Regions from separate parts of the Homo sapiens genome. Here region 2 is linked to region 1. The links are contacts of gene promoters, found by promoter capture Hi-C in blood cells and fetal thymus (Javierre and others, 2016). All regions are on one chromosome and are shown on one strand. Each heading gives the region's core, a stretch centred on a gene start or on the middle of the fragment in contact. The rest is flanking DNA. Distances are from core to core; before and after follow the strand shown. Region 1 holds the start of TRPC7 (transient receptor potential cation channel subfamily C member 7). Region 2 overlaps CTB-1I21.1 (a long non-coding RNA gene).

Evidence for each region. The method cuts DNA at HindIII sites, captures the fragments that hold promoters and counts their contacts. A CHiCAGO score of 5 or more calls a contact.
Region 2: a fragment that was not itself captured here is called in contact with the fragment with the promoter of TRPC7 in region 1 in 1 of 17 cell types (endothelial precursors); the score reaches 6.9 in endothelial precursors.

Annotation. Positions count from the first base shown.
Region 1 is chr5:136,363,707-136,367,368 of GRCh38, reverse strand. TRPC7 (transient receptor potential cation channel subfamily C member 7) reads left to right here and starts at 1,824. Exons shown (of 12, transcript NM_020389.3): 1 at 1,824-2,116. The coding sequence starts at 2,115. The HindIII fragment of the contact is 9,012 bases long and covers 1-3,023 here.
Region 2 is chr5:136,757,633-136,761,294 of GRCh38, reverse strand. The region is part of intron 3 of CTB-1I21.1 (a long non-coding RNA gene); the gene reads right to left. Among named protein-coding and RNA genes, the nearest start is that of CTB-1I21.1, 25 kb to the right of the region's middle. The HindIII fragment of the contact is 3,798 bases long and covers 1-3,662 here.

The sequences.
Region 1 (3,662 bases), core at 575-3,074:
TATTAGAAAATTTCTTTTTAGAATGGTATTTTATCCAATGAAACATAATTATTAATATTGTAAAACTTGCGTGGAGGCTTATAAGAATAAAATGCATTTGTTGCCAGTCTTTTTGGAGGGTTTTGTTGTTGTTGTTGTTTGTTTGCTTGCTTTTCAAGACAGGATTTCACTCTGTCACCCAGGCTGGAGTGCAGTGGCATGATCTCAGCTCACTGCAACCTCAGCCTCCTGGGTTCAAGTGATCCTTATTCCTCAGCCTCCCAAGTAGCTGGGACTACAGGTTCACACTACCATGCCCACAACTAGAGAACTACCTTAACTTCTATTGAGCAAGCAGAGGAGAAAGAACATTCAAACTGGGTCGAGTATTGTGGCTTATGCCTGTAATCCCACCCCTTTGTGAGGTCGAGGCAGGAGGATAGCTTTAGCCCAGGATTTCGACACCAGCCTAGGCAACATAGTGGGACAAGGTCTCTACTAAAAAATTAAAAATTAGCCAGGTCTGATGGTATGTGCCTGTATTCCCAGCCACTGTGGAGGGTGAGGCAAGAGGATCACTTGAGCCTGGGAGGTCAAGGCTACAGTGATCCGTGATTGTACCACTGTGAGACCCTGTCTCAAATTTTTAAAAAATTAAAACGAACTTTCAAACTTATCATGCACACCTTAAATGCCAGCTCTTTGGAGTTATTTGTACATGATTTTTCAATTAATTATCACCACGACAATTGGTAAAAGGCATTATAAACCCTATTATTACCAACCATTCACATATGAGAAGACTGAGATTCAATAGGTTAAGTGTTATGTCTAAGGTCACACAGTTAATAAGTGAATCAAAATCCCAAGGTCTTTTCCCACATATCATGTTATCTTCAGAGAAAATACTAGTAGCATATTAACAAACCAATGCAATCTCATTTGGATGTAAAACTAGAATGGTCATGTGTACAATACATTATAAGCAACTCCTTAGCCCTAAGTATTGCAAGTGCACACAGCAACAGTTTTACAGAGTGTCAGTTATTAAGCTGTGAGTTGATTTCAGAAAATAACCACTCTGATTTATTGGTAAGTAACCCAGGTAGATTGTAGAAGCAACTGTGGTTTTTCATACACAGGCAATATTTCAGTTAAGACGGTTTCTTTCCAATGATGTCATTAAAGTACCTCAGTGTTTAAGAATCATAGACCATTTGGTTACATAGCAATTGGTGAGCGTGGGAACTGTTGGGGAAATGGTATTTTGGATTGAGAATTTCGTTTCAAAAAATGGAAAGTTGCAAATGAAAGCTAACCCTTTTAGTCTTGTTACTAATGTGAGACTTGTTCTACACCACTGACCTCTTCCTGATCCTAGATAATGCTAAAAGATCATGAACCAAAATAGTAAAGTTGGAAGATACATCACTCACAGAAGACAAAGTGTGGTGTGGTGATGAGACTTACGGAAGAAAACTACTTCTATCGCTCTTTAGGCTTCTCTGGTTTTAGTTTTCTTCTTAACCCCCTCCCTCTGTAAACACACAGACACAACAGGTAGGAAACCAGCTCATTCCTCATTCCTCATTCCTCATTTGTTTAAACCAATGAATATTCTGCCTCAGAAGTCAGAACATGCTGCCTTATATAACGAGGTGTGTGTGTGTGTGTGTGTGTGTGTGTGTGTGTGTGTGTGTGTGATGTACTATTCTGGGGCAGAGGAAAGGGCAGGTAGAAATCCTGAGGAGCTATGGCAGGAAGAAAGAGTTGCTACCTCCCTTTCAAGCTACGTCGGGGAGAGGGGGTGGGGACTATACCAACCCATCACCACGCCGCATGCCACTCTCACACAGATGCTTCTCCGTCATGTTCTCTGGGAAATTTCCCCCCGATTAGGAAAAGGACGGTAACACGGTTCTGCCTCGGAAGGCGAGTTTTTACCACTGCAACACAAAGAACAGAGGAGCGCGCTTTCACATCGTTGCAACTTAACTCACTTGACCAGCTCTATACTTCAGCACCACGGAGAGCGGTACATCCTTGGCTACCACCCATGGGGAGCCAGCTTCTGGCGACTCAACACCGGATTCCGGTCATCTAGAGGAGGAACAAGCCTGCGTATTACACCCTCAATGTAAGCAGCTATGATGGTTCTTTCATATTGATTTTTTTTTCCAGTAGAGGTTGTGTTCTCGCTAAAATATGTAATTGAACTTTCATTTATCAGCCTTCTTCCTCTAGTGCACTGCTTAGATTTTTAGATGGATCTGAGATCTTTCTTATTTGTTGAGTTGGTAGAAGAAATTTTTTTTTTCTTTTATAGAATGTCTAAGTTTTCAAAGCCATTTAGAAACGGACAACTCATGTCGGTAGCCTATTCCTTTTGTGCTAGAGTAATATAGTTTTATTCCTAGATGAGTGTATAGGTGTTGTCTCTTCTTTCCCTTCACTACTGACAGCTTTCTAATGTATTTATGTGGTTGTATTTATCATAATATAAATATAGGGGTGAGAGAAGGGAGAGGGTTATATTCTAATAAGTAGCCACTGTTAAAGAACTACAGGTGGCAAGAAAGAGATTGTCATTTTTCTTTTCTTCTTGTTGAAAATATGGTCTGAGCTATGTATCTCCTTTAGACATCCATTTCAAAATAACAAATATGCTCCTAATGAAAGAGGTGTAATCTAGGCAGAGCTTTGAAACTCTCATAATCTCCCCTTTAAGTTTGAAGTTGTAAATTCATTTACCTATGATTGAGTAGACACAACCAAAATGCTATTGCTATTAATTATAATTTAGAGGCGTAATGGATTCAGGGTAGACTCAGAAAAGGCAATAATGATTGACCCTGTCTGGTGGCACTCAGTGAATTTTTGCCTCAGAATGCCACCTGCTGGTGGGTCTTATTTCTGAAGCACCGAGTACACATCAAATTTATGAATGAATTCACATTAAATCCAGAATATTCATTATGGATGTGATGCAAACCCAATCTCCAAGATCTTTTTAACAATGACATTGATTCAATTATTTAAAAGCTTACCAAACTTCTATGTCACAATTACCCTTTCATAAATATTTATTTCCAAAAACACTTGCTCCTAAACTTAGGTGCATGTAGACTAGATAACTCCTTTAGGCAGTAATTAACCCAGAAAAAAATCAGAACTATGTGGAGCCTCATTGAGGCTAATTGCAGAATGCATGCGGTATCTTGGATGAGAGCTACCAGGAGCTCTTGCTTAGTAAAGGCAATCAACATTTCCCTCCATATAAATATTAAGCATGTTACTTTTTTTCAGTATTGTCATTTCATAATATAAGGGCCTCTCTTTCTTTCTCAGTAGTAGATGTTTATTTCAGACTCTTATCATAGAGGTCAGTGAAATCATCAAAAGGTTACACATATCTATTTTATTTCAAGAAAAATCTTTTTTAAAAATAAAGCTATCAAAACTTGTTTCAGCTCCACCTGGAGCTATACACAATGAGATATAGACATCCAGTTTCATAACTTCCAACTTCCAAATAGGAAAATAAGGATTTTAAAAGTAAAAAGAAAAATAGAAGCACATACAAAGCACTAGTTATATTTGGATAGGTGGTACCTAGGACAGTTTGAAAAAACTGAGGATAACTTCTTCTCTAAATGATGTTACTTGGTAGAAAATAAATTACT
Region 2 (3,662 bases), core at 552-3,051, 390 kb before region 1:
TGGGGGCTTTGTAGACAGATGATTTTGTCACTCAGGTAATCAGCATAATACCCAATTGGTAGTTTTTCAATCCTCACCCCCCTCCTACCCTCCACCCTCAAGTAGGCCTCTTTGTGTCCACGTATACTCAATGTTTAGCTCCCACTTATAAGTGAGAACATGTAGTATTTGGTTTTATGTTCCCGTATTAATTCACTTAAGATAATCACCTCCAGCTTCATCCATGTTGCTGCCAAGAGCATGATTTCATTTTTATGGCTGCATAGTATTCTGTGGTGTATATGCACCACATTTTCTTTATCCAATCCATTATTGATGGGCATTTAGATTGATTCCATGTCTTCGGTATTGTGACTAGTGCTGTGATGAACATGTGTGTGTGTGTCTCTTTATGATAGAATGACTTATATTCCTTTGGGTATGTACCCACTAATGGGATTGCTGTGTCAAATTATAATTCTAAGTTCTCTCAGAAATCTCTAGACTGCTTTCCACTGAATTAATTTACTAATGACTGAAACTAATGACTGAACTAATTTACATTCCCACCAGTAGTATATAAGCATTCCCTTTTCTCCACAACCTTGCCAGCACGTGCTGTTTATTGATTTTATTAATAATAGTTATTCTGACTAGTGTGAGGTGGCATCTCATTGTAGTTTAGATTTGCATTTCCCTAATGATTAGTGATACTGAGCATTTTTTAATATACTTTTTGGCCATGTGTATGTCTCTTTTGAGAAGTGTCTGCTCATGTCATTTGCCCATCTTTAAATGAGGCTGTTTGTTTATTGCTTGTTGATTTATTTAAGTTCCTTATAGATTCTGGATATTAGACACTTGTTGGGGTCTTCTGTGGCTCCACATGAATTTAAGGATTGTTTTGGCCATTCCTTAAAAAATGACATTGGAATTTTGACAGGAATTACATTGAATCTGTAGATTGTTTTGGGTAGTATGGGCATTTTCACATTAATTCTTCCAATTCATGTACATGCGATATCTTCCCATTTATTTCTGTTCTCTTCAATTTCTTTCATCAGTGTTTTACAGGTTCAGTACACAGATCTTTTACCTCCTTGATTAAATTTAGACCTAAGTATTAATTTTTTTGGTTGCTATTGTAAGTGGGATTACTTACTTAATTTGATATTCAGATAGCTTGTTATTAGTATAAGGAAATGTTCCTCATTTTTGTATGTTGATTTTGTAATCTGAAACTTTACTGAATTTATCAGTTTTAACAGATTTTTAGTGAAGCATTTATGTTTTCCATACATAAGATCATGTCATCAGCAAATAGAGATAATTTTACTTCTTCCCTTTCTATTAGAATGTCTCTTGTTTCTTTCTCATGCTTAATTGCTCTGGCTAGAACATCCAATACTATGTTGAAAAGAAGTGGTGAGAGTGGCATCCTTGTCTTGTCCCTGATCGCAGATGAACAGCTTTCAAATTTTCATCGAGAATGATGTTAGCTACGGGTTTGTCATGTATGGGCTTTGTTTTGTTCAGATAATTCCCTGTATACCTAATCTGTTGAGAGTTTTTTCTTAATCATGAAGGAACGTTGAATTTTGTCAAATAGTTTTTATGTATCTGTTGAGATGATCATATAACGTTTATCCTTCATTTCATTAATGTGGTATATTTCATTTATTGATTTGCATATATTGAAGCATCATTGCATCCCAGGGATAAATCCTACTTGTTCATGGTAAATTATTCTTTCAATGTGCTCTTTAATTTAGTTTGCTGATATTTTATTGAGGATTTTACATCTGTGTTCACCAGGGATATTGGCTTGTAATTTTCTTTTCTTGTAGTGTCCTTGTCTGGCCTTGGTAAAAAGGTAATGCTAGCCTTGTAAAACAAGTTCAGAAGTATTCTTTCTACCATGATTTTTTGGGAAGGATTCGTGAAGAATTTGTATTAGTTCTTCTTTAAGTGTTGGAAAGAATCAGTAGTGAAGCTGTCTGATTCTGGGCTTTTCTTTGGTGAGAGATTTTTTTTTTTTTAACTACTGATTCAATCCCTTACTCATGATTTGACCAGAAAATCTGGTCAAATCAGATTTTCTATTTCTTCATTCTTCATTCTTGGTAGGTTGTATGTATCTAGGAATTTATCCATTTGTTCTTGGTTTTACAATTTGTTGGCATATACTTGTTCATATTAGTTTCTTATTATCTATTGTATTTTGGTGGTATCAGTTGTAATGTCTCCTCTTTCATTTGTGATGTTATTTATTTGAGCAGTTATTCTTTTTTTCCTAGTTGGTCTAGCTAAGGGTTTGTCTTTTCTTTTTTAACCTTTTCAAAAAACTAACTTTCAGTTTTATCAATGTTTCTATTGTTTTTCTAGTCTCTATTTCAGTTATTTCTACTCTGATCTTTGCTATGTCCTCTCTTCTGCTCACTTTGGGCTTAGTTTGTTCTTTTACCAATTTATTGAGTTATAACAGTAGATTGTGAATTTTTTTTATATATAGGTATTTGTTGCTATAAATTTTCCTCTTAGGGCTGCTTTTCCTAAGTTTTGGTATGTTGTGTTTTCATTTGTGTTTGTCTCAAGGTATTTTTTATTTCCTTTTTTATTTCTTCTGTGACCTATTAGTGTGCTCCACATCACTAATCATTAGGGAAATGCAAGTCTATTTGCTGATGACATGATCTTATGTATAGAAAACCATAAATGCATCACCAAAAAACTGTTAAAACTGATAAATTCTGTAAAGTTTCAGGTTACAAAATCAACATACAAAAATTAGGAACATTTCCTTATACTAATAACAAGCTATCTGAATAGCAAATTAAGTAAGTAATCCCACTTACAATAGCAACCAAAAAAATTAAATACTTAGGTCTAAATTTAATCAAGGAGGTAAAAGATCTGTGTACTGAAACTGTAACAGAAATATGTGCCACATATTTCTGTATTTTCCAAGATTTCTCCTGTTATTGATTTATAGTTTTATGCCATTGAGATCTGAAATGATACGTGATATGACCTCATTCCTCTTACATGTGTTGAGATTTGTTTTGTGGCCTAAAATATGATCTACCTTGGAAGATGTTCCCTGTGTACTTCAGAAGAGTGTGTATTTTGTTGTTGGATGGAATGTGCTGTATATGTCTGTCAGGTCCATTTGGTCTAAAGTATAATTCAAGACCAATGTTTATTAATTTTCTGTCTAGATAATATGCCCATTGTCCAAAGTGGGGTATTGAGGCACCATACTATAATAGTAACTCATTCTATCTCTCCCTTCAGATTATTTAATAATTGCTTTACAAATTTAGGTGCTCCAATATTGGGGGCATATATATTTGCAATGTTACAAATATATATTTGTATATTCTTTATTATTATGTAATCATGTTTGTCTCTTTTTATAGTTTTTGACTTAAAGTGTATTTTGTCTGAGATAAGCATAGTTACACTTGCTCCTTTTAGTTTCCATTTGCATGGAATATCTTTTTGCATTCCTTTACTTTCAGCCTATGTGGGTCCTTACCAGTAAAGCAAGTTTTTTCTTGTTTTTTTTCATCTATTGAGCCACTCTTTTTATTGGACGACTTAATTCATCTACATTCAATGTAATTATTGACAGTTTGGTAGGTCCCTTGTTTCTTTCTTCATCTTTTACTGTTTTCCTTTGT